Regions from separate parts of the Homo sapiens genome. Here regions 1 and 2 are each linked to region 3. Evidence: promoter capture Hi-C in human tissues and cell types (Jung and others, 2019). All regions are on one chromosome and are shown on one strand. Each heading gives the region's core, a stretch centred on a gene start or on the middle of the fragment in contact. The rest is flanking DNA. Distances are from core to core; before and after follow the strand shown.

What was found. The method cuts DNA at HindIII sites, captures the fragments that hold promoters and counts their contacts. A contact is called where the count stands out against the background at its distance.
Region 1: a fragment that was not itself captured here is called in contact with the fragment with the promoter of IGF1 in region 3 in 1 of the 25 tissues and cell types used here (adrenal gland).
Region 2: a contact is called between a fragment that was not itself captured here and the fragment with the promoter of IGF1 in region 3, in 1 of the 25 tissues and cell types used here (H1 embryonic stem cells).

The regions. Positions count from the first base shown.
Region 1 is chr12:102,205,311-102,209,675 of GRCh38, forward strand. It overlaps LOC124902998 (a long non-coding RNA gene), which reads left to right. Exons shown (of 2, transcript XR_007063426.1): 2 at 1-4,365. Among named protein-coding and RNA genes, the nearest start is that of PMCH, 9.7 kb to the left of the region's middle. The HindIII fragment of the contact is 3,824 bases long and covers 398-4,221 here.
Region 2 is chr12:102,749,251-102,753,544 of GRCh38, forward strand. No RefSeq gene overlaps it. Among named protein-coding and RNA genes, the nearest start is that of LINC00485, 73 kb to the right of the region's middle. The HindIII fragment of the contact is 3,013 bases long and covers 377-3,389 here.
Region 3 is chr12:102,478,326-102,482,572 of GRCh38, forward strand. It overlaps IGF1 (insulin like growth factor 1), which reads right to left and starts at 2,238. Exons shown (of 4, transcript NM_000618.5): 1 at 1,994-2,238. The coding sequence starts at 2,056. It overlaps LINC02456 (long intergenic non-protein coding RNA 2456), which reads left to right. Exons shown (of 13, transcript XR_007063427.1): 11 at 1-4,247. RefSeq lists enhancers at 694-953, 1,044-1,093. The HindIII fragment of the contact is 12,796 bases long and covers 1-4,247 here.

The DNA.
Region 1 (4,365 bases), core at 1,060-3,559, 270 kb before region 3:
AGCTGGTAAACATGGATGAATTGATTTAAATATTTATTTTGCAACAATGTGGATTTGAATTATGGATATAGTTTCCTCTTTTTGGTTAATTATATGCACATTTGAATTCATCTCTGTCTATGAGTACTAGTGGACTAGCTGCTTCCCTGGATCTCGTTACTGGATGGTATGTTGCTCTTAGTGTCATCCAAACAGAATTATTTTAAAAGTGAAATGAAGAAACCAGTTGTAGTGAATTACACATCACCAATTTTTAGAGCTGTAGACTAATATCTTGAAAATTGCCTTAACATCTTTTTGCCACAAATCAAGATATAAGTAACATTAAGAGTTATGTAAGGCCAGGCGTGGTGGCTCACACCTGTAATCCCAGCACTTTGGGAGGCTGAAGAGGATGGATCATCTGAGGTCAGGAGTTAAAGACCAACCTGGCCAATATGGTGAAACCCCGTCTCTACTAAAAGTAAAAAAAACAAAATTAGCCGGCTGTGGTGGCATGTGCCTGTAGTCCCAGCTACTCGGGAGGCTGAGGCACAAGAATCTCTTGAATGCGGACAGTGGAGGTTGCAGTGAGCTGAGAATGCACCACTGCACTCTAGCCTGGGCGACAGAGCAAGATTCCATCTCAATTAAAAAAAAAAAAAGTTATGTGAACATGCTTGAAATGATGTTCATGGCTAAATTTTTCAGTTACCTTGTAAAGATGATTCTTGGATATTGTTTTGATTCTGAGTACTTTTGGAGTCATCTGATAGTATGCTTCGAGAATAACAATCTGATGATAGCTTTCAACATTGGGTTACCAACAAAGCTTGTTATTTTGTATACATTGATTCATAATTTCAGGTTTCTTCACCATTATGGTAAGTAGTGTATTGAGTCTTCATTCTAACACATGTTAGGAATTTATGTTTGTACTCATGGATGTCTTTAACCCTCAGACATTTCTACTTATATTGAGAACTCTAGACTGAAAACATTTTGAAATGTAGTGGTTTTACTATGTAGGAGGAACATGTGATTCATTTGTTCTGCTTCATTTTCTTCTGTTTGTGATAGAGATTGGATCAGATGAAAGTGTCTTGATAATGATATACATGCCATTCTTTTCATTCTATGTATTTGTAGTCCTTTTTTGCCATCATAACTTTGTTTATGATATTCCCTGCTCTTAAAATACCCTCATCTTGTCCCTCCACCTATCTATATCTAAAATATCCTTCAAGACCTTCCTTTTGCAGCTTTCTCTGAGTACTACAGCCAAATCCTCTTGTCTGAACTCCAACATGTGTAATACATTATCATCCTGTTTAAATATAATTATTTCTTATATTTATTAATTTATCAAGGCCCTAAATATCTGCATAAGCTTGCCTTCATGGTTTCACTTTTTCATTGTTCTCTATATTCATGCCATGTAACTTTGGCATGCCTTCCCACTGTGGGTGGGGTAACCTGCCCACTGTTTGACTCTGGTTTCAGGCATGTGATTTGCTTTAACTAATGAGATATTATCAGATATCATGCAAGCAGAGGCTTGAAATGGTCTTGCACATTGGGAATTCCCTCTTGAGCCTCTGCCACCACCATGAAAACATTCCCATGCTAGCCTGCTGGAGAGAGCCACATGGAGGAGAGCCATGCTACCCTAACTGCCATAGCTGAGGCTATCCTCGATCAGCACACATCCATTCAAGCACCAGACACTGGAGAAAGTCCACTTGAGGTCAGTAGAGCTGCCTAGCAGATGCCCAACTGACCCAAAAAGCATAAGACATAAACATTTATTGTTGTATACCCTCTGAAGTTTTGCATGTGTTACACCATATTACTATAGTAATAGATAATTGATACAAATGTCCTACATGGCCTGGACCATGCATTCCTTGCTAAATTTATTTCTTGCTACTCTGTCCCTCTTTCGTCACTCTCTAGTGATATTGGCCTTCTGTTTTTATGATATGCCAAGATCATTTCTGACGCAAGACTTTTTCCCTGCTATTCTCTTTGTCAGGAGCATCTTTCTCCTGTTATTTATCTGAGCATTTATCACTCATTATTGTGATGCTCAGCTCAAATATCATGGTTTCTGAGAGTGCTTCCTTGACCCTATGAGCTAAAGGAGCCCCCTTCCCACTCATTCTTTCCCTATTCCTTTCACTCCTTTATTTTCTTCACTGTGCTTCTGTCTAAAATTATCTTACTTGTTTACATGCTTATTGTCCATTTCCTCTAATGCCAGTGAGGGAGATGGTATCAAGAACAGAGTATCAAGAACAGAGTCTGGCACATAGTAGCCTTTCAATAAACATGTAATAAATGTATGAATTATTTTTTCATTAAGAGAACAGATGGTAGAAACTATGATAGGTTCTAGAATATGATAGAGTATTTACTTATTACCTAGGTCTGCTGTGACAAATTACCACAAACTTGATGGCTTAAGGCAACAAAAGCCCAAAATCAATGCGTGGACAGGACTGTGTTTCCTCCAGAGACTCTAGGGGAGAGCCCTTCCTTGCCTCTTCCAGCTTCTGGTGACTGTTGGCATTCACTGCCTTGTGGTAGCATCCTCTGCTCTGTCTTCAATGACCTTCTCCTCTTTGTGTCTGTTCCTAATATTCCTCTGCCTCTCTCTTATAAGGATTCATGTGATGGCATTTAGGGCCCACCAGGATTATCTCCTCATCTCAAGATTCTTAGTCACATCTGCCAAGACTCTTTTAGGGGTAACATTCAAAATGAATAAAGAAAACTACAGGACAATATGCCTGATGAACACAGATGCAAACCTCCTCAACGTAATACTAGCAAACCAAATACAGCAGCACATAAAAAATTGCTTCACCATGATCAAGTAAGTTTCATTTCTGAGATGCAGGTTGGCTCAACATATGAAAATCAATAAATATGATTCACCACATATGCAGAATTAAGAAGAAAAACCATATGATCATCTCAGTAGACACAGGAAAAGCTTTCAGTAAAATCCAACATCCCTTCATGATAAAAACCCTCAAAAAACTAGGCATTGAAGATACATACCTCAAAAAATAAGCGCCATCTCTGACAAACCTACAGACAACATCATACTGAATGGACAATAACTGGAATCATTCCCCTTGAGATTGGAATAAGACAAGGATGCCCACTCTCACCACTCCTGTTCAAAATAGTACTGGAAGTCCTTGCCAGAGCAATCAGGCAAGAGAAAGAAATAAAAGGCATGCGAATAGGAGAAAAAGTCGAACTATCTTCACTGATGATATAACTCGATACTTAGGAAACTAAAGACTCTGCCAAAAGGCTCCTGAAACTCATAAGCGCTTCAGTAAAGTATGAGGATACAAAATTAACATACAGAAGTTTGTAGCATTTCTATACACCAATAACATTCAAGCTGAAAGCTAAATCAAGAATGCAATTCCATTTACAATACACATGGACACACACACACGCCTAGGATACAAATAACCAAAGAGGTAAAAGATCTCCCCAAGGAGAACTACAAAACACTGCTGAAAGAAATCCCAGATGGAAACAAACAAATAGAAAACTATTCTACGCTCACAGATTGGAAGAATCAATATCATTAAAATAGTCATACTGTCCAAAGCGATCTACAAGTCCAATGCTATTCCTATCAAGCTATCAATATCATTTTTCACAAAACTGGAAAAGACTATTCTAAAATTTATATGGAACAACAACAACAGAAAGCCCAAATAGCCAAAGCAATCCTAAACAAAAAAACAAAGCTGGAAGCATCAAATTACCTGACTTCAAACTATACTATAAGGCTACAGTAAACAAAACAGCATGGCACTGGTGCAAAAACAGAAACACATAGACCAGTGGAACAGAACAGAGAACCCAGAAATAAAGCTGCACACCTACAGCCACCTGACCTTCATCAAAGTTGACAAAAATAGTCAATGGGGAAATGACTCCCTATTCTATAAATGGTTCTGGGATAGCTGGCTAGTCACATTGCAAAAGAATGAAACCAGACCTCTATATTTCACCATATACAAAAATTAACCCAAGAGGGATTAAAGTGTAAGACCACAAATTATAAGAATTCTAGAAGAAAACCTAGGAAACATCTTTCTGGAGATTGGTCATAGGAGAGAACGTATTACTAAGTCCTCAAAAGCAATTGCAACAAAACCAAAAATTGATAAGTGGGACCTGCATAAACTAAAGAGCTTCTGCACAGCAAAATAAACTATCAACAGAATAAAAAGACAACCTACAGAATGAGAGAAAATATTCACAAACTATGCATCCAACAAAGGTCTAACATCTAGAATATATAAGAAACAAACAGTTGAACAAGCAAAAAACAAATAGCCCCATTAAAAA
Region 2 (4,294 bases), core at 633-3,132, 270 kb after region 3:
AAATTAGATAATTTGCCTAAGGTAACCCAGTTAGCCAGTGGTAGGTTTTAATCCAGATTATTTGAGAGCAAGCTTGTACTTGTCAGACACCAGGGGAAGGTCTCAGGGTAGAGGGAAATCAACTATTTATTTGGATTCAACCAATTTAAATGCTGTTTAAGGCTAAGGGCTCCTGTTTCCTTTTGCAAAAACGGGTGTTCTTTCTTCTACAAAGTGTAGTCCATGGCCAGCAACCTTCACATCAGAGAGCTTATTGGAAATGCAGAGTCTTGGACTTTAACTCAACCCTAATGAATCAGAATCTGCTTTTTAACAAGATCCCCACATGATTTGTATGTACATTAAAGGTTGAGAAGCACTGGTCTACACCACAACACACACACACACACATACACACACACACACACACACACACACACACACACACACACAATAGCAGCAGCAAGTTCTGAGGGAAGAAGTAAGTACAGAGATAAAAATTTGGAGTGCAGTCTGTGCTCAAAGAAGGAAGGCCTGTTCTGTAGCCACTGCATTGCTGAGAACTAAGAAGTGAGTAGGTAATGGACACAGTGTGGAGTACTGGATCTTTTACTGGTGACAGCAGCATTTCTACCTTAGCACAATAAACACTTTGGTTCAACCAAAGGGGTTGTTTCTCAAGCATGCATTTGGGGCTTAAGCTTCCATTGGGGTGGACAGCTTGCCGTGGTTTACCCAGGACTTTCCTGTAAGTCCTGCATCCTGAGAAAATCTTCTATTCTGAAAAAACCATGACGGTTGGTTATCCTAGCATCTATCTCTTTTCCTAAAGGGGCAAATAATAAAATTACCTTAGACTTAGATTCTGGAGATCTGAGTTCAGCTTCCAGGATCATCACCTATTATTGCTATTATCATACATGAGCCACTTAAACTTCTCTTTTTCTTATCTGCATAATGAAGCTAATACCAAGCTCCTTTGGTAGCTGAAGAATAAATTAAAAGCTATAGATGTTAAGATCATCAAGACAGGGATGATTTATATTCTATCTTCGTAGCCCTGAATGAAAGTTTGTGAATGCACTTTGTGAACTATGACATAATCTTGTATCCAAGATGTTGCCAGTGTTATAAGAATGTATCTCTCTTGAATACCTCTCTGTCAAATTCTATACAGTCTGTACTGCTCTGATGAATCCTAGTCTCCTCAGAGAAGTCTCCTAACTCACTCCAGCTATAGTGGCTTCTCTCACTTTTGAAGAATCACTTGAAGAAAATTGTTCAGCATTACAAGTTTGTGTTTTGGCCAGGCACGGTGGCTCATGCCTATGATCCCAGCACTTTGGGAGGCTGAGGCAGGAGGATCACTTAAGCCCAGGAGTTTGAGACCAGCCTGGGCAACATAGTGAGATCTCACCTCTATAAAAAAATACAAAAATTAGCCCAGCATGGTGGCATGTGCCTGTAGTCCCAGCTACTCAAAGGCTGAGTTAGGAGAATCACCTGAGCCCAGGAAGTTGAGGCTGCAGTGAGCATGATGGCACCACTGCACTCCAGCCTGGGCATCAGAGTGAGAACTTGTCCACAAAAAAAAAAAAAAAAAAAAAAAAAAAAAAAAGGTCTGTGTTCTGGAGACTTGGCTTCACCACTTAATATTCAAGTGACTTTGGACAAGTTACTTAACCTTGTGAAGTTCAATTGTTTCAGTGGTAAAATGGGAGCAATCATAATAGTACCTGTCTAATTTATAGTTGGGTGTATGGAATAAGATAGTTAAATCTATGCGTACCATAAACTAAAGGCTTAGATATGTTAGTTGCTCTGCTCTGAAATATATTTAATGCTTACTTTCTTAGAATCCTAATTCTTATAGGACCTGCAACTTGGGGATGGAGTCTCTTGTAATAATAATCTTTTTTCAACTTTTTATGTGTTTACTTTGTTCCTAGATTGTAAACACTTTCAGGTTAATAATAATGATATTATCGGCCATGCAGTGGTTCATGCCTGTAATCCCAGCACTTTGGGAGGGTGAGACAGGTGGATTGCTTGAGGTCAGGAGTTCAAGACCAGCCTGGCCAACATGGCAAAACCCTGTCTTTCCTAAAAATAAAAATAAAAAAAATTAGCTGGGTGTGGTGGCCGGTGCCTGTAATCCCAGCTACTCCGGAGGCTGAGGCAGGAGAGTCACTTGAACCTGGGAGCTGTAGTGAGCTGAGATCATGCCGCTGTACTCCAGCCTGGGTGACATAGCAAGACTCCGTCTCAAAATAAAATAATAGTAATAATAACAATAATATCTAGACCACCTCCTCTGAGACCAGCAGCTGTAATAGCATTTTGAGCACTTGTCGTGTGCCAGGCACTATGTAAAGCAAATTGCCATCAGTGAGTGAGCACCTATTGTGAAGCAGGTACTTTACTTAGGTTACCTCATTAACTTTTAAGACATCCCCATGTGGTAGAAATTATTAGCCCCATTTTGCCGATGACTTTTGATGATATGGAAATTAAGTAACTTTCCTGTCAGCCACACAGCTGGGACTCAAACTAAAGACCATTTTATTCCGAAGCTCATGCCAGCCACACAACTGAGATTCAAACTAATGACTGTCTGATTCCAAAGCTCATGCCATTTCTATGTTGCTCAGGGATCCCCAGACCATCTAGTAGTTCTCTGCAAACACATAATAAAGTAGTGCTTCTCAAATGTTAATATAGATATTAATCACCTGGAGATCTTGATGAACTTCAGATGCTGGTTCAGTAAATCTGGAATGGACCCGAGGTTCTGCCTTTTTAGCAAGTTTCCAGGTGGTACTGATGCTGCGGTCCAGGGACCACACTTTGAGTAGCAAGGCTGCATTATTTACTTTCCAATGGGTTGGTTCATAGGTGAAGTCTCTAGGATCTGCATCTTCTGCAGTTCTTGGGGCTAGGTCTAGGGAAGGTGTGAGAGTGGCAGGAGGAGGATATTTGGTGGAACTGAGTAAGTAACCAGTCATATTAAGAACCCAGTTCTTAACTGGGGTGGTCATAATTTGGGACTACTTTTATCTATTTCTCTTAAATTCTGTGGCATTGGATATTCATCAGATATCCCCAATGATCACAATCACCTGGCGTATTTGTAAACCAAAACACTTCCAAGGACTCTCTCCCGGGATGGGGCCTAGTAATTTGTAATTTTACAAGTACTTCAGAAAAGTCTGAAAAACACTGAAAGTGCTATAGAAATTGCAAAGAGCAGGCAATAAATGAGGGGTGATGTAATCAAAGAAGGCTTGGCTGGTAGGGGTCGGGAGGTTGCAGGGGGCCTGGTTAGGGGATGGAGCTCAGCCCTGCAGAATGAGAGAGTTCTAAAAGGGCAAAAGACGGTGGGAAGAGTGCTGGGTGGTGGTGGGGCACATAAACAAGGGTATGAAGATTGGTTCTGCATTTTTTCAGATTCAGTTTAAGGCCTACTGGATTTTGTTTGAAATGCTGTATAAACATCGTGTACATGGGTACATTAAAAATATTATAATAAAAGATTTTAAAAATATTGGTTATATACTCGAGTGACACCAAAGTCACATGCAACCAGAAGTTTGCATAGTATAATAAACCTTAAAAATTGCTGTGTTTCCAACTGCTGGATGAAAACATACATCGGAATGGCTAAAGTTAAAAAGCCCAATGATACAAGAGCTGGTGAAAACGCAAAACCCAATAGGAATTCTCACTCATTGGTATAAATTGGTACAACCACTTTGGACAATTCTTTTATGGTGCCTATCCACGCTGAAATATGCCTTTCCTATGACCCAAGAATTTTACTTCTAGATATAAATCAAACAGAAATTCCTACATTTCTAAGAACACCTAAAGTCTGAACAAGAATTTCATGGCAGCATTATGTATAATGGCCCCAAGCTGAAAATAAATTAGATTTTCTTCAATAGTAGAATAAAAATATAATATTTCATCATAAGAATATAGCACATTCTTATGATAAAATATTATATTGTAGTAAAATTGATTATTGCAAAAAGTAGATACAGAAAGTATATTCAATAGGTTTCATTTTATATGAAGTTGAAAAACAGATAAAACCAAACTATGGTGTTAGAAACCAAGATATGGCTATCTTTGGGGAATTGGAGGGGGCAAAAACCTAGGAGTGGCATGGTAGGGGGGCTTATGGAGTACTGATAATATTCTATTTCTTAACCTGGGTGGTGGTTATATGAATATGTTCATTTTAAGATAATTTATTCATCCGTACACTTAACAAATGTGTTTTTTCTATTAAAATATCCTATTTCAAGAAAAC
Region 3 (4,247 bases), core at 988-3,487:
ATCAGAAAACACTTTCTCAAAAATCATTCACAAACCCAAATTTTAAAAGTTCTTTTTTTTTTAATCTTAGATAAATGGAATATTAATTGATTCCAGATGTCTGGGCCACAATGAAAATGCCCTGTAAAATTTGAGGGCAACAGTCATAAGAAAATACTCACTGTAGGTGTAATCATTTTTGTTTGTTCCAGGTCTTTTACAGCAGGTCAGGGTGGGTATTATGAGGCCGATGTGAATAGAAAACTGAAGTCTTAAAAACATGTGCTGCTTTGTGGGTGGGGTTTGTGAAAGCATCTAGTTACATTTGGACACCCAGGCAGGTATGCTATTATGAGCCTGGGTAAACTGCCTTTTGTCCATTGAAACAATGAACAAATTGCACAGCTGGGATTTAAGTCAATCTTTTCCCCCCAGTCAAGCCACCTATTTCCATTGTATGCCTATTGTAGCAGCCCAGATAGTGACCCAAGCTCCAGTCCACTCCCTTACTCCCTTCCCCCGACTCACTCACTTGGAAATACCTTGAGAGTCAGAGTACAATCAGCTGGTGAGCTCTGCCTCTGGGCAGGACACCTTTACCCACTGAATTACATGTGAAAGACCACGCAGCTCCCTCAAACCACTTCCTGCTTCAAGTACAGAAAAAAGTAACAACTTATTAAGAGCTCCACTTCTGAAGTGTTCAGCATACACAGCATGAAAAGTGCATTTGGAAACAATTTTCTTAACTTGTAATTAATGCAGAGATAACGCTCCACAGCCTCTTTTATGATCCCCTAAGTAAGGAGACAAAAACTCCAGCTGCTAGATCACATAGTATGTATGCACAGTGACGTCATTTCTTTGAAAGCAAGGTGGCCTGCATGTGTTGGCATCTCAGGAACAGCAGAATCAGGTGCCTGACAAGGGTGTATCTTTAACTCCTGGAGCCACTTACTTGACTAGGGAAAGTCGTAGTGGTGAAGTGTTTGAAAGCAGCAACTGAATGCTGCACTAAGTGGCAGAGACGTCTTATGAATTGAGCCCTCAGGCAATTGAATCGGTGGAGCCAGTGACAGCAGCTTAAAAGCGCTTGCAAATTGAAAAAAAAACACAAGTCTTGAAGGATATAATTTTGCTGAGAATGGAAACTAGAACTACGGCCAGCAATCGGAAACGAGAAGTCGGTGCACTGACAGCAGCAGCCAGATTTACCTAAAGGGACTTCACGACACTGAATATAAAATCAGAGTTTTATAACACAGAACCCCAAGTCCAAACTTTGCCCATGAAAGTCCTCTTCTAAACAGAAAAGTTGGGCAAGCAGCTCTTAGAAAGTTTCTGCTTTCCATATACAGTATGTATTTGTTTAAATTATACAAATATGCAAGGTCAGCAAGAGTTGTCAAGGAGTTCTTTTTTGGAAGAACAAATTACACTTTACTCTAACTTTAACACTCTCTCTGGGCATAAGTGCAGAGTTCCGGGACCTTAGCTCCAAAGATCATATTTAAAAGCTTTAATATCATCTAAAATACAACCCTTCATATATAGCATGCCTTGTAAATAAAGTCCTGATGAGTTACACACACAGAGACACATACACACAGAGACACATACACACATGCAAAAGAACATGGTCTTAAAAATAAAACATCTGCACCTGCAAAAGAAAAAAAAAATCCCCAAGTTCATATCCATGCTCTATAGCCCTTAGCCATAGAGAGGATTTAAAGGAATCTTCTGTAATGACACCACGGAAGCCCTGCAGAAGTGGAGGATTTAGCATAAGTACCTTGCAATAGTTTCTACTCATACAGATATCTGTGCAAATGCATCCATCTCCCCGAGCTATTTTTCAGATTCCACAGAATTGCATATTCAGCAATTTATAAATAACTCTCGGTTCCGAAACAATGAAAATTTTAAAGTGAAGAACAGTTCTAGGCAGAAGCAAACAGTACACAATTTAAATAGAATTCCCCAATGACTTCAAAGAGTAAGAAATATTTACCTTCAAGAAATCACAAAAGCAGCACTTAAATAATTGGGTTGGAAGACTGCTGATTTTTCCCATTGCTTCTGAAGTACAAAGTCTGAAAATGAATTGGTTAGCAGGAATAATGAAGCAAAAAGAAATCCAGAGAGATGGGAGATGTTGAGAGCAATGTCACATTTCAATTTTGAGGACTTTATTCCATTGCGCAGGCTCTATCTGCTCTGAATTTAGCAGTGACAGTGAGATTTAGCAAACAGAAGAGGGATTTAGAGAAAATCCTCACATTTATCTACAAAACACAGACACTGTAGACAGGAAACAGCTGGGGGAACATTTGCCTTCTCTCTCTCTCCCTCTTCTGGCAAAGTTATTGAGTAAGGACTTTTTTGGGCATGGTGACAAATAACATCATACCTTTGCATTTTAAAACTAGAGCACAGAAGCATTTTTTTCCCTTAAAAGAATGTGTGTTAGTGACAGGGTTCGCAGACATTAAAATACTTATGCTGCCATAGAAAATAAGGATCTGTTTTCTGATTAACTTTCTGCTGGGCATGAAGACACAAACGTCTGCTAATACACCTTACCAGTATTAAAGGAATATGGGGGATGGGAGAGCAATTTTAGATTCTAGAGCAAATGCATTATTTAAAACAAAAAAAGAAAGAAAGGACGATAAGACCCTCTCCAGCAAACTCTACAATTTTAACCCTGAAGTGACTGGGGTAAAGTAGATTGGAAGACAGCACTCGGGTGACCCCTTGTCCCAGTTGCCAAGTGAGAGGTGTGATCTCATTTCCTAGAACCTATGGAGGGGCAGGCAGCATTGGATTGGTCCCTTTAGGGCACTGTCTCATACTTTTTCTCCTGCGATGAGGCAAAGACTATGCCGAGCTGTAAAACCCAACTGAAATAGAACATTTTTCTTTATTCTTCTACTAGGCTGCCTGTCACTGTCCCCTCCCCACCCCACCACTCTGGGAGAAGGGTACCTGGGGGGCAAACAATTTTCCTGTTGTTTGAATTTTCCATATAACTCAAACCTGTGTGTGTGTGTGTGTGTGTGTGTGTGTGTGTGTGTGTGTATGACAGAGGGAGTCTGTGTGCCAGAGTGTGTTTTCTTTCTCTGATTTTTGTGTATTCTAAATAACACCAGCTGGCTAGCAATACCCTCTCGAGGGTTATGATGTCATTCAAATCCCTCAACTGGGTGACTGGCCGGCAACATGGTCCAAGCCAGCTGTTTTGCTATTTATAATGTACACTTGCCTTTGCCATTGAGAATTCAGTTCTGATCTTTTGTCGATACAGTTTGTACCTATTTCCCTTTGGTTTTGTGAAGCAGTAGATAAGAAAGTGAATTATAAAATAAGGTTGCAAAAGCCCAGAGCAGACATACCTCTTTCCCTAGAGAGCTCTCCAGGCCTGGTTTCCCAGGAGTGGTGGAAATAACCTGGACCTTGAATTTTTTCTTTTTTTTTTTTTCCACATGACTCTCAGGGGACTGACACATCAACTGAAAACACAGTTCTGCTTGAAATCCTACTCTGGCTCTTTGTGTTATCCTGGGGCCAGAAATTTGTTTGTAGAAGTGGGTGCCCTAACAAAAAACAAACAAACCTGCTTTGTTTGGAAGGGGGTTGGGTTTGTTTGAGTCTTCTGTGTGGTTAATACATTGTAGCAATGTTTACCTTTCAGAAATCAAAGTTAGAAATCTGGAATTATGTTGTGTCAATGGTGCACTATGTTCAGCAACATTTTGTGAGCTCTACTATGTGCCCAACTACAACATCCCTAGGAAAACAAAGAGGAATAAGATATGGTCAAGTCCCTTCAGGGGCTTTCAGCTGAATGTCAGAGACAAAGAGGAAAACTTCACAGTCATATGATGGGCATGTGCTCTTTTAAAAACATGAACAGTGCACAATGAGAGGGAGTGACACATTCTCTGGGAAGACAGGGGAGTAAAATCTTTTGGAAAATCCAAAATGAGGGAGGCAGATTGTGTCATGAGAGGCTTTGGGGTACCATGTTGGGAAATTTCAGTGGGTGGGATTTGACCCAAAGAGCACACTAAGAGGTATCATCAAGAGGTGGCCTAGTAGGTGGCCCTGGATTATTCTTAATGCAGGGATTATCCACATGTGCAGATGTGTGAGTAATCCCTGCATTTAATAATAATCCGTGGCTTCCTTTAATAAGCTCTCTTTGTACACTTGATTTGTGACAAATCTTTTTCTTTTCTGCAGTTTTTGTGGATCACACCCTT